Regions from separate parts of the Homo sapiens genome. Here all the other regions are linked to region 3. The links are contacts of gene promoters, found by promoter capture Hi-C in blood cells and fetal thymus (Javierre and others, 2016). All regions are on one chromosome and are shown on one strand. The core of a region is centred on a gene start or on the middle of the fragment in contact, and the rest is flanking DNA. Distances in the headings are between cores, read along the strand shown.

Region 1 (4,237 bases), core at 1,481-3,980, 300 kb after region 3:
TTAGATCACATAAGTTCTGGTGAACTTACTCATTTTATAACCAAAAGTTTGTACCCTTTGACCAACATCTCCCATTTTCCTCACCTCCCAGCCCCTGGCAACCACCATACTACTCTCTGCTTCTATGAGCTTGACTTTGTTTAGATTCCACATATAAGTGAGACTGTAGGAAAGTTTAAATTTTTTCCCCTGAAGTTTCAGTCATTTGAGTTTATAAAACAAACTGATAATAGATTATCGGGAAAAACAGGCATACAAATTTTATTGTGTGCACATGTGTATGGAAGTCATACAAGCTCAAAGAAATGGCTAGAGGGTTGACACTTTTATACCATCTTGAGGTTACAGCAAGAATGAGGACTTGGATTATAGCAAAACAGGTTATGGTGGCAAGACAGGTTATGGGACAGAGAGAAGAGGAGGCCTGGCTAGTAAAGGTGGTCTTGTTATGCAGATGAAATCTCACAGATGAAATCTCTCTGAAATCCCTCAGAGAGAAGAGATGGGAGCCTGTGATAAATGTTTCTGCAGGGCCTTTAAAGTGTCAAGACTCCCAGGTGATCCTTCCTGGATCCAGAGGGAGAGAGTGGGGTGGTGTTTCAAAGAATACATGATAGCATCTGTTGTTTACTTCATTTTACTCCCTCTACAGTTGCAAATCTCCTTCACACAAGATAGCTTTGCAGGCCACTTCTGTTGGCAGGCCCTGTGAACAGCCACCTCAAAATATGTCAAAATATATATTAAAATTTTTTTTTAATTTCAATACCTTTAGGGGTACAAGTAGTTTTCGGCTAAATGGATGAATTGCATGGTGGTAGTCTGGGATTTTAGTGCATTCATCACTCAAGTAGTGTACATTGCATCCAATATGTAGTTTTTCATTCCTCATCCTCCTCCTACCTCCTCCCTTCTGAGTCTCCAATGTCCTTTATACCACTCTGTATGCCTTTGCATACCCATAGCTTAGCTTCCACATATAAGTGAGAAAATACGGTATTTGGTTTTCCATTCCTTAGTTAACCTCTCTTAGAATAATGGTCTCCACTTCCACCCACGTGTGTATATGTGTGTGTGTGTGTATATATATATATATATGTATGTATATGTGTATGTGTGTGTGTGTATATATGTATGCATATTGTATATATATATATGTATATTCCTACCAGCAGTGCATAAGCACTCCCTTTCCACCACATCCATGCCAACATCTATAGTTCTTTGAGTTTTTAATGTCCATTCTGGCTGGGGTAAGGTGTTTTGCCATGTTTCCCAGGCTGGCCTTGAACTCGTGGTCTCAAGCGATCCAGCTACCTCGGCCTCCCAAAGTGCTAGGATTACAGGCATGAGTCACTGCACTGGGTCAAGCTATTAATCCATCTTGAGTTAATTTTCGTATGTGGTGAGCAATAGGGATGCATAATATTTTGGGGTGAGATATTTTGGTTTCTTTCAGATCATACAGTAATTGTGTCTAGTTTATTTCACTTATCATAATGTTTCCCATATGGATAGCAGGATTTTCTTCTTTTTATGATCAAATAGTATTTCAGTGTATTTATTTATGTAATTAATTTATTTTTTGAGACAAAGTCTCACTCTGTCACTCAGGCTGGACTGCAATGGTGCGATCTCGGCTCACTGCAACCTCTGCCTCCCAGGTTCAAGCAATTCTTGTGCCTTAGCCTCCTAAATAGCTGGGATTACAGGTGCCCGCCACCACACCCAGCTAATTTTTGTATTTTTAGTAGAGACAGGGTTTCGCCATGTTGTCCAGGCTGGTCTTGAACTCCTGGCCTCAAATGATCTGCCTGCCTCGACCTCCCAAAGTGCTGGGATTACAGGAATGAGCCACCACACCTGGCCTCATTGTATTTACATACCACATTTTCTTTATTCATTCATCCATCCATTGACAGACACTTAGGTTGTGTCCATATCTTGGCTATTGTGAATAATGCTGCAATGAACATGGAGGCTCAAGTATCTCTTGGAGATACTGATTTTATTGTAATAGCAGAGACATAGATCAGTGGAACAGAATAAAGAGCCCAGAAATAACCCCACACATGTACAGTCAACTAGTCTTTGATAAGGGTGCCAAGAATACATGATGGGAACAGGACAGTCTCTTTAATAAATGGTTTTCGGAAAACTAGATACCCTCATGCAAAGAATAAAATTGGGGTTTTATCTCACGTTATATGCAAAAATTAACTCAAAATGGATTAAAGACGTAAAACCGTAATACTCCTAGAAGAAAACACAGCAAAAGCCTTCCTTGACGTTGGCAGTGATATGTTTAGATATGACCGCTAAAACACAAGCAACATAAGCAATGAACAAGTGAGACTACATCAAACTAAAAAGCTTCTACACAGCAAAGGAAACAATCAGCAAGGTGAAGCGGCTACCTCCAGGCTCCTTTTATTCAGAAAGGCATACACATTTCTGCTCAAATATTTTGCCAGTTCATTTTATTTGAGTAGAAACAGTCAAATGCCACATAAAGGAAAGCCCCCTCTAATGAACCCTCTGAAGCACATCATGTTAACTTTCCCATGCTAACTAATGTTGAGAAAGAGGAAGTTTTGCATTTTTTCCTTTGCCCCCTTGTTACAAAATCATCTGTTGACCTACAACCGGCGTTCTGCTTAAACGATTGTGTGCAGTGATCTTTAGAAAATGCAGTAGAGGAGAGAAAGGGGTCACAAGGGGAAAAAGATAGATTCACTTAAACTGCATGCATAGAAACCCTCCTTTTTTCTTTACAAGTTTTATCATGAAGCAAAAATATTGAGAGATAGTAACGTCAATCAAAATTACAATCAAGTTAAACAATCTGGTGCATTCATCACTTTAGTAGTGTACATCCCTGTTTGTATTTTTCATTTCATTTCTATTAAGATTTAGTACACAACCTAAAATACAAAGACAACTAGGACAAAATTCCTGCCTTTGAGCTCAGTTAACCATGGGAAATAAGTAATAAAACAACTTAGACAGGAAGTATAATGAAGGTTACCAGGGACTGGAAGCGGGGGAAGAGTTATTGCTTAGTAATAGAGTATTTTGGGGTGATGAAAAAGCTTTGGAAACAGATCATGGTGATGGTTTTACAACTTTGTGAATGTAACTAATGCCACTGAGTTGTACACTTAAAAATGGTTAAAATCACAAATTTTATGTTGCACATATTTTATCACAATTTCTAAAATCAGAAAACCCTCAACTATCTGTGAAGTGTGACAACAGCTATAGATGAGATATACGTTAAAGATCTTGAGTAAACAAGAGAAATAATCTTTTAAAAACAAAATGTATTGAGTTTCTACTTTTTCTTAGGCACTCTACTAGGCACTTAATATACAGTGTCTCAGTCTGCCTCCAAGAAGCAGACACCAAGATGAAATTGGAAATTGAACGTGCAGCTGGGCTCAGTGGCTCACACCTGTAATCCCAGCACTATGGGAGGCCGAGGTGGGAGGATCACATGAGCCCAGGAGTTTAAGACTAGCCTGGGCAACATAGCAAAACCCTGTCTCTATTAAAAAAAAAACACACAAAAAATTAGCTGGGTGTGGTGGTGCGTGCCTGTCATTCCAGCTACTCAAGAGGCTAAGATGGGAGGATCGCTTCAGCCCAGGAGATCAAGGCCGCAGTGAGCCATGATTGTACCACTGCACTCCAGCCTGGGCAACAGACTGAGGCCCTGTCTCAAAAAAAGGAAAAAAAAAAAAAAAGAAATTGAATGAGCTAGAGATGTATTGGGAGAAACACCTGTGCAGGATAAAGGGGAGGAAGCAGGGGTGTGCAGGGAGAGTCTCCCAACTGCAGTGCAGGCCTGACACCAGCTTAGAGGAGCAAAGGAAGGGAGAAAGAGGATTGGAGACAGAGCCTCAGACTGCAGTGCTGGTGTCAGAATGTTTAAGCCAGATCAGTGGGAGGCCTTCAAGCCCATGTCTCCTACTAGAGGAGTCTCATCCTCCAGCAATGGGCCTGATTTAGTTTCTCTGCTGGGCTTCATCAATGGCCGGGTGCAGCCTGAGGGAAGCATGGCCTCAGGGCAAGCCTGATGGAGGATCCAGGGGGACAGCACCCAGTGCTGGGATACTTATTTGCCAACTGCACATTCTCTAGAAGGAGCTCTGACTAGTGTACTTCTGTGGTCACCATACACCTAACCTCATTTAAAGCTCACAACGCCTCTTCCAGGCATTTTATTACCTCCAAT
Region 2 (4,600 bases), core at 305-2,804, 420 kb after region 3:
AGTTGATGGTTTTAAAAGTGTTTGGCAGTTCCCCCTTTGCTCTCTTCTCTGTTTTGCCTGCTACCATGTAAGACATGCCTTGCTTTCCCTTCACCTTCCACTTTTTTTTTTTTTTTTTTTTTTTGAGATGGAGTCTCACTCTGTTGCCCAGACTGGAGCGCAGTGGTGCGATCTCGGCTCACTGAAGCCTCCACCTCCCAAGTTCAAGCAATTCTCCTGCCTCAGCTTCCTGAGTAGCTGGGATTACAGGCACACACCACCATGCCTGGCTAATTTGCTAATTTTTTAGTAGAGACAGGCTGGCTTTCACCATGTTGGCCAGGCTGGTCTTAAACTCCTGACCTCAAGTGATCTGCCCACCTCAGCTTCCCAAAGTGCTGGGATTACAGGCGTAAGCCACCGCACCCGGCCTCAGGTAGTATCTTTATAACAGTGTGAAAATGGACTAATACAGACAGTCTTTAAATTTAGCTTCAGCAGAACTTTCAGGGACTAGCAGAAAAAATGCTAATTTGAACCTGATGAACAAAGACCTGCATTGATGAAACCTCACAACCATTTATATCTCACATCTTCCCAATTCTATCACAAAGACCTAAAGTTCCTTTATGCCCTAAAACTATCAAAATGTATTTTGGGGCCTGAGTTTTTCCAAAAGTTGAGTTTCCATATCACTGGTTATGGTTAGATTCCATGTGGGAACTGGTACCTGCTTAGCATTTTAATTAATTAGTATTCTTGTTTGTGGTTTTCTTTTTCTTCAAAAATATTTCCTGAGTACTGTGCTGAAAAATGAACAAAAAAGAAAAAATTCATGCTCACTGCAAAGTATAAATTCCCCAGCTCTCTTCCTCTCATAATTCTTCCTCCAGAGTTCTTTTTTCACTGGCTCTGATTCCTCAAATAATCATTTGAAAGTAAACGGTATATGAAGAGGAAAATATGTCCCACACGAAGGTGATCATACTACCTCTCACAAATATCTATTGAGAGATACACAAATTGTTTGGGATTAATTACACATTGTTGTTATAGTCAGTGCACTCTTGATGTCTTATAGGCTTTTGTGGGGTCATCCAGGAGACCCATGCTACAAGGTCTGACAGGATTTTTCCCCTAGCTGCTCTGCATATCCACAGTCCTCTGACCTCATTGCAGTTCTCATTTGCAATGTTTTCTTAAATAGGTAGAAATGTTTCCTGCTCATTTTGCTTTTATACATTTGGCAAATACTATCTTGGCTTCCTCAGTGATCTTGTGTCTGGGTCTTCCCTCATCTTGGAACCAGAGCTGGCATTTTAATTATCCTGTAAATTCTGACCCCATTTCAAAGTGTAAGCTACCACATGATTTATTTAGTTCTTTTTCTTTTTTTAAAGGTAAGTGAGGGGTAGTTTGATAAATAATTTTTTAAGCTTAGGGGTTATTAGAATGTTTATGCTATATTTACTCCCTGCCTTGATACATAAAGTATTCTAAATGGCTCCATAGATCTGCTAAGATGAAATAGGTATAAAACTTAAAATTTGGGCCTTGCAAAAATACACATGGACAAAACCAAGGGAAAAATAGAAAAAAAAATTTATGCAGGCTCCACTCCAAAGATGAACCCAAAATTTGGCACTGAGCTTTCTTATGGCCCACTCAAAAAGGGAAAATATAGTCAAGTGCTTGATTCATGTTGTCTAAGAAATAAAGCTTGCCAGTAATTCTGAGGAAATAAAGTTTTTCCTAGCACATAGAATCTAGAAGAACGTTTCCATGCAGGTCTTCACATGGGCCACATCTTCATCACTTTTAGAATAAATGTGATTGCTGCTGTGCTAGGGGTGTTTATTAAAAGATCCCTGTGTCTGAAGCTAACAAGGGTAAATATCAATGCACTTCCCAGCAAAAGTAATTTTTCATGCAGGCCTCCGACAATGTGATCTAAATGTTTAGCTCTCCAGTGGTCTGCCAGGAATCAAATGTAGAGTGTCCAGATATGAATAGTCAGCTCATCCTTAAAATAAACTTCCATTAATATCATTTCTCTCAACAGAGTTCATCTTTTCATCATAATGTGTTAAACCAGGAAATATCAGTAGACAGTTCTGCAAAGGCTAAATGAAAAGGAAATTAGCTTAATTTGCAGTGTAAGACTTTCAGGTTTGTTACAAAGAATGTTGGGAGAGTGAGAACTGGCTTTTACAGTGGATTCCTATGAGAACAGATTTTTTTTTTCTTCCACACAACACTAGTGGAAGATTTCTTTTATTTTTTTTTTTTCTTTTGTTTTCGTGACAGAGTCTCACTCTGTCACCCAGGCTAGAGTGCAGTGGCACAGTCTTGGCTCACTGCAACCTCTGCCTCCTGGGTTCCAGTGGTTTTCCTGCCTCAGCCTCCCAAGTAGCTGGGATCACAGGCATGCGCTACCATGTCTGGCTAATTTTTCTATTTTAGTAGAGATGAAGTTTCTCCATGTTGGCAAGGCTGGTCTCAAACTCCTAACCTCAAGTGTGATCCACCCACCTAGGCCTCCCAAAGTTTTGGGGTTATAGGCATGAGCCACCATGCCCATCTCATAAGATTTTCAAAAAATAAGGTTTTTTTTTTTATCATTAAATCTTAAAGGATGGAAAAACCTGCATAAGGCCCTTCCTAATCCTACAACATAGTGATTGTGACAATTCATTTCCATTGTGTGAAAACATATGACATTTAATGATGATCGTCAACTCCTATGCGGGGTAGGGTGAAAGGCGCGAAAGGAAACATATTAGAAAAAGTGGCTCCTGGCCAACCCAGAGGTGATTTCATTTGGGGCTGGCTCAAGTTTCATAAGCCTAGAATCAAACTTGCAACCATCTGTTTGAGGTTCTGTGGGAACCAAGAATTCCAGAGCCCAGGGAAATGGGAGAGCATCCTAGGAATAGACCCTTCACTGAATCTTGTTTCCACTTCATGATAGAAAGCTCCCTAGAGCTGCCTTTCCCCTTGATTTTAGGGCTGGAGGAGGAGCTTAAGAAGCACCTTTGGAGCTCAAGCTTGGACTTCCTGTGGCCCTTTCCCACAGAAGAGCTAACTCTTGGAATGAGATCTTTGAACATTCCATATGAGCCTCCAAAGACCAAATGATCCAAAACAATTGCAATAGATCTGTCTAACGACCATATTGAATCCACCACCACTTCCAGTGTCAACAAAACCAAACTGCATACTACACCAGCAATTCTGTCTGGTTAAAAGAAGACCAACCATCTTCCAGTTTCTCTTGCCTAGAATCTCTCTCACCTAGCATCAATCTGTAGGAGACTGAATTACCAACTAGTCAAGGAAACTTTCAAAAATATAGGTGGGATGTGACAACTGTGGATATAAGTCTTAAAGCAATGTGGAAAATGGGCTGCCCAAATTGGAGTAACTTGCTGAGAATGTTCTCTCCATATGCCCAGCCCCACAGGTTCATCTACAAGAGGAGTATCTCTGATGTGAACTGCAAATTGTCTTGGGTTGGGTTCCTCAGAAACAGAGCATAAGATGGTGGTTCTTGGGCAAGTAATTTATTGGCAGATGGCTTGCAGGAGAAATCTGCATGGGAGTGAGGGAAGCAGGATTGGAAGAAAGCAAGGATGTGGTTTCAGGAGAAGTCCAGCATCTCTCTGCCTAATCACACTGGGAGCTCTGGAACATAAATAGGATAGTGGAGTCTGTCCCATCTTGAGGCAAGAGGGCTTTGGTAACCTGCATCTGTCATTCATTGGCTTCCAGCCACCCTGCATTCATGTGGGTGAGGGAGACCCCAAAGCATCTTCGGTGTAAGCAGCTTCAGTTGCTCAAGGACAGCTTCAGGAGCAGGCTTCAGGTGTGAGCTCTTAGCTGCAGCACCTATAGCAGTTTAGTGAAAGGAACCCCAAGTGTATCAGGCAAGACATCAACAGCAGCTACTAAACTAGCACTTCTCAAACTTGAGTGAGCACCGGAGTCCTCTGGAGCACTTGTTAAACACAACTTGTTGCACCTCACCCAGTTTCTGATTCAGTAAGTCTGGGATGAGGCCTAAGAATTTGCATTTCCAAGGTGATGCTGATGCTGCTAGTCCAGGGACCATGCTTTGAGAACCACTGTGCAAAGCTAACATTTTTTTAAAGCAATCAATTGCCTTTGGAAAGCTAGCTCATGGACATGTTCACTCACTCGGTCTTCGTGCATCAGCATATTTACAAAGGTTAAATAAAGTGAGGTCTGATTATCAAAAAGGAAGACAGGTTGATCTTATCAGGACATTGACTCAGTTAAACAATTGCCGCCTTCTGAACAGCACCATAAACCCCAATTCTCTAAAGAGAATGTCATTAAAGAATGGAGGCGCTGGGTGCCATTGCTCACGCCTGTAACCCCAGTAATTTGGGAGGCCAAGGTAGGTGGATCGCCTGAAGTCAGGAGTTCGAGACCAGCCTGGCCAACATGGTGAAACCCCATCTCTACTAAAAATACAAAAATTAGCCAGGTGTGGTGGTGCACACCTGTAATCCCAGCTACTCAGGAGGCTGAGGCAGGACTATCCCTTGAGTCTGGGAGGCAGAGGTTGCAGTGAGTCGAGATGGTGTCACTGTACTCC
Region 3 (4,157 bases), core at 79-2,578:
CTGTTGTGGACATTTTTCATAGAGAAACGTACTATTTGTAGACTTTTTTGGCTCTCCGCCAATTAAAGCTTTACCGCAGAGCTATACATGGAATCGCCGGCTCCTAACCATTTTACGGAGGCATTTTTGGAAGCCCTTCGGGTTCAAGTCCCAGTAAACAACGTTCACAGGTCAGATCCCTTGGATGTCAGGACCGCATCCATGGAGAAGAGCTGCTCTGAGAGCATCTGTAACCCTGCTATGAGGGGGAGCCTCCCACGGGAAGCCTAAGGCCCTTGAGCCTGCTTTGAAAACCTGGGGCATCTCAGCACATGCACGGTGAGCTCCAAAGCCACGAAGGGGCCGGGGGCCTCGGGCTGCCCATGTGCGCCCCGCCCAGAAAGCAGACAGACTGTTGGGCGTGCACCTTCTTCTAGGTCCCCTTGGGCTGTGTTTACCTGCAAGCTCCATTTCCTGGGCGGCCATAACTTGAACCTCCAACTGGTCCTTGGCAGCCATCCTGCTGCCCTTCCTGCCCACGGGCTCCGTGGCTGACTGGCCTGGGAAGCTAGAGGCGACCTCTGAACCTGGTGAGTGCAAAGACACACTAAGGACACTAAGGAAACGAGGCGTGTTAAATGAAAATCATCAGGATCGCAGGTTCAAGGGCGCCCCGGGTCTCCCGTGGGAGCAGGAGGGGACGCGGAGAAGATGCCATCATCCCCTCCTGTCCTGGCCCGTCCAGCGCTTCCCCGGGGCTGGCTGCAGAGCTCGCAGAATTCCGCGGCCTCTGCGGGATTCTTGCAGTGCCCTTGGGACAGAGCCTGGCCCTGCCCCTGGGTTCCCCAGCGACCCAGTGGAGTCGGGAGGGCCGCGGGGTGACACAGGATCTCCCCAGCCATCTCCATGGGAATGAGCCGGTACGCACCTGTTTCTGACAGGGGCAGGGACTGCCCATTCGCCAGCCTGGACGCCCAGGGGACCCCTGGTGACCCCAAGTATCCCGTCCTGATGGGCAGCCAGACAAGACGGACCCACGTTGACCCCCCGACCCCCCCCCAAACGCTGCACACATGCACAGGCCTCCGGGACCCTCCTGGGTCCTGGGGACCACTCAGGCAGCTCCAACTCCCTGCCCTGACCCAGGCCCCAGGCGACAATGCCTGGGCCATTTCCTCACAGATCAGCCTGGCTGCCCCGCCCTTCACACCCTCTTCCCCAAAGGGCCTCTGGCCCGCCTTCCCCGCATCCCCACCGAGGGCGTCTCACCTGAGGGAGCCCTGATGTTGCTCCCTCAGAGGACCTGCAGAGGCTGGCACCGCGAAGCTCCTCCGAGGGCCTGGGTCCTCTGTTCTCACGAGAGCAGCAGCCGCCCCGGCTGCCCGCGCTCCTCGCTGATTGGTCGGCCCAGTGCGCATGCAGGTGGCGGGCGGCATGGGGCCACGCCCCCTGCAGGCACACCCTCCCCCTCACGGACTGTCCATGGCTGCTGTGGACTCATTGGGTGGCTCTCTGAGGCCTCTGTCCCCACGATATTCCAGCTCCTCATCCTGGTGAAGGAAGCAAGGACTCGGGAGTGGTGAGTGCCAGGGGACCCTGCCCTAAGGAATGGAGGCCAAGTGAACGGGGCCTAGGACCTTGCCCCCAGGCTCGTTCCAGCCACTCCTGCCCCTTTGGGTGGAATGGCCATCACCCTGCGGGTGGAGCCCAGGCTCCCTCCCATGTCCTGTGTGCTTCCAACACGCCCAGCTGCATCCTTTTTATCAATGGATTGTGCTTTTATGTTTTATCTAAGAAAATTGTTGACTCCCAGCAGGGGCAGGTAGTTTTCTCCTATCCTACTCCATTCCCTCACACTGGGCATTGCATGATTCTGCAGTGGATATACAAAGTTAAAGACTTTATGTCTAGATTTCTCATGATGTGGTCATTTCTTTTCTTTCATTTTTCTTTTTTCTTTTTTTTTTTTTTTTTGACAGGGTCTTGCTCTGTCACCCAGGCTGGGCTGCAATGGTGTAATCACTACTCACTGTAGCCTCAACTGCCCGCGCTCAAGGGATCCTCCCACCACAGCCTCCCAAGTAGCTGGGACTACAGGCATGTCCCACCATGCCCAGCTAATTTTATTTTATTTATTTATTTATTTTTAGAGACAGAGTCTTACTCTGTCCCCAGGCTGGAGTGCAGTGGCACGATCTCGGCTTCCTGCAACCTCTGCCTCCCTGGTTCAAGCAATTCTCCTGCCTCAGCCTCCCAAGTAGCTGGGACTATAGGCGCACGCCGCCACGCCTGGCTGATTTTTTTTTTTTTTTTTTTGTATTTTAGTAGAGACAGGGTTTCACCGTGTTGCCCAGGCTGGTCTCGAACTCCTGAGCTCAGTCAGTCTGCCCGCCTCAGCCTCCCAAAGTGCTAGGATTACAGGCATGAACCACCGCTCCTGGCCAATTTTGTTTATTTTTTGCAGAGATGAGGTCTCACTATGTTGCCCAGGCTGGTCTGCAACTCCTGGGCTCAAGCGATCCGCCCGCCTCAGCCTCCTAAAGTGCTGGGGTTACAGGCTTGAGCCATCGTGCCCAGCCCGATTATTTCCACAGCTGGGTTGGAAGCCATCTTTCCCTGACAAGGCAGCTCACCTTTATATCTAAGAGTTCTCTATAACCTAAAGAGAATCCCTAATTACTGACACTAAATACCACCAGCTGTCCCCATTTCCCCACAATCTACTTGGTACCCAAATTAGCCAATGAGACATCTTGGGGAATTTTAAGCCATGATTGCTTCAGGTTTCTCTCTCTTTCGAGCTTAAGATGTGTAACATTAAGAAAGAAGACAAATCTTGCAGAGGGCTTTGTGCAACCAGTCTTACAGCTTTCTATCCCATCTGGATCAATGTAATTTTCATATGCTTCATCAAAGATTTCAGCTGAAAGTACTATACCAGGTTCTGTCTATAATTGGAAACACATACACACATACACCAACTACTGGTATTCAGCTAAGAATTCAATGCTGGCTCATTTTTCTTTAAAAGAATGTCAAATCAAGGAACAATTCTCCATCACAAAGTGGAATTTGATGTCAGGTGAAGACAAATGGGGATTACAGAGCTACTTCTTTGGCATAACAGCCTAGAAACAAACTGAAAAGGATTCTGCAATTTTAAATAGGCACAAAGACATTCTTTTCAGAACACCAAGTGTCCAAGTTACAAAACCCTGAAGAAATTCTTTTAAACTTTGGATGGAGCAATTTATCTCTTTTTCCCAACTGGAGTATTTGTGAGATGTCTCCCAGAAAGAAACAACTCAATACACAAATCATTAAGCCTTTGTAAAGGGAGGAAGTCTATTTGAAGCAACTCTGGGTTGCGGAAACAGGTTTTGTGAACTAACCAAAGCCTTTAGGGCAAACATGGTCACTTCAATTTTTTTTTTTTCCCACTAGAGGTTATCTACAAAGACCACAGGAAATGTTTAAGCAAATTTAAAGGAGATTTCTCAAGAGTTATTAGAATAAGTACTTTAATTTAGAGAATTGGTTTCTAATAACTGGAGGTGTAACCCCCTCCTACCCCCAACACCCTACTCCACCCTATGTGAATTGACTGACAAGTAAGGATAATGCTTCATAACAAATGTAGAAATAACACCAATTTTCAAAGCAGCCCTCACTCTTCTATTGCTGTCATTAAGAACTAACTGAAAGAAATGCACTGCTTGGATTCATAGACAGACAGAGGGACAAACAGATGGCTAGATATGTGATAAGCAACAACAGTATGGCCAGATGTCAATGATAGAATCTAGGTGATGGGAACATGAATGTTTTCCATGAAATTCTTTCAACTTTTCTGTGTATTTGAAATTTCTAATAATAAAATGTTGGAAAACAACATGTATGCTGTGCATACATGTAGAGACATAGGCTCAGACCCTCTCATCAAATGGCAACAACAATTGTTCATTTTGAAAACATCTAGAAATCTAAGATGTGATCACTGGGTTAAAGACTGTATACATCCATACTCTGTAGCCTGAATTAGTGATTTACGCTCTAATAGCCAATCAAATTGCTCATTTATCAGACAGGGCTGGTAGCACAGGAGATGGAAGTTTCTCTGCTGATAATCCTCCAGACGTTTGAGGGCTTCATGTTCATTCACATTTCAGCCTTTTCTC

Evidence for each region. Contacts are between HindIII fragments. The CHiCAGO score rates a contact against its expected background, and 5 or more counts as called.
Region 1: a fragment that was not itself captured here is called in contact with the fragment with the promoter of FAM9C in region 3 in 1 of 17 cell types (activated CD4 T cells); the score reaches 5.5 in activated CD4 T cells.
Region 2: a fragment that was not itself captured here is called in contact with the fragment with the promoter of FAM9C in region 3 in 1 of 17 cell types (total CD8 T cells); the score reaches 5.2 in total CD8 T cells.

Annotation. Positions count from the first base shown.
Region 1 is chrX:13,342,646-13,346,882 of GRCh38, forward strand. No RefSeq gene overlaps it. Among named protein-coding and RNA genes, the nearest start is that of LINC01203, 9.5 kb to the left of the region's middle. The HindIII fragment of the contact is 719 bases long and covers 2,372-3,090 here.
Region 2 is chrX:13,465,461-13,470,060 of GRCh38, forward strand. No RefSeq gene overlaps it. Among named protein-coding and RNA genes, the nearest start is that of EGFL6, 100 kb to the right of the region's middle. The HindIII fragment of the contact is 283 bases long and covers 1,414-1,696 here.
Region 3 is chrX:13,043,292-13,047,448 of GRCh38, forward strand. It overlaps FAM9C (family with sequence similarity 9 member C), which reads right to left and starts at 1,329. Exons shown (of 8, transcript NM_174901.6): 1 at 1,249-1,329; 2 at 438-566. The coding sequence starts at 498. It overlaps LOC105373133 (a long non-coding RNA gene), which reads left to right and starts at 1,442. Exons shown (of 4, transcript NR_171577.1): 1 at 1,442-1,558. The HindIII fragment of the contact is 8,868 bases long and covers 67-4,157 here.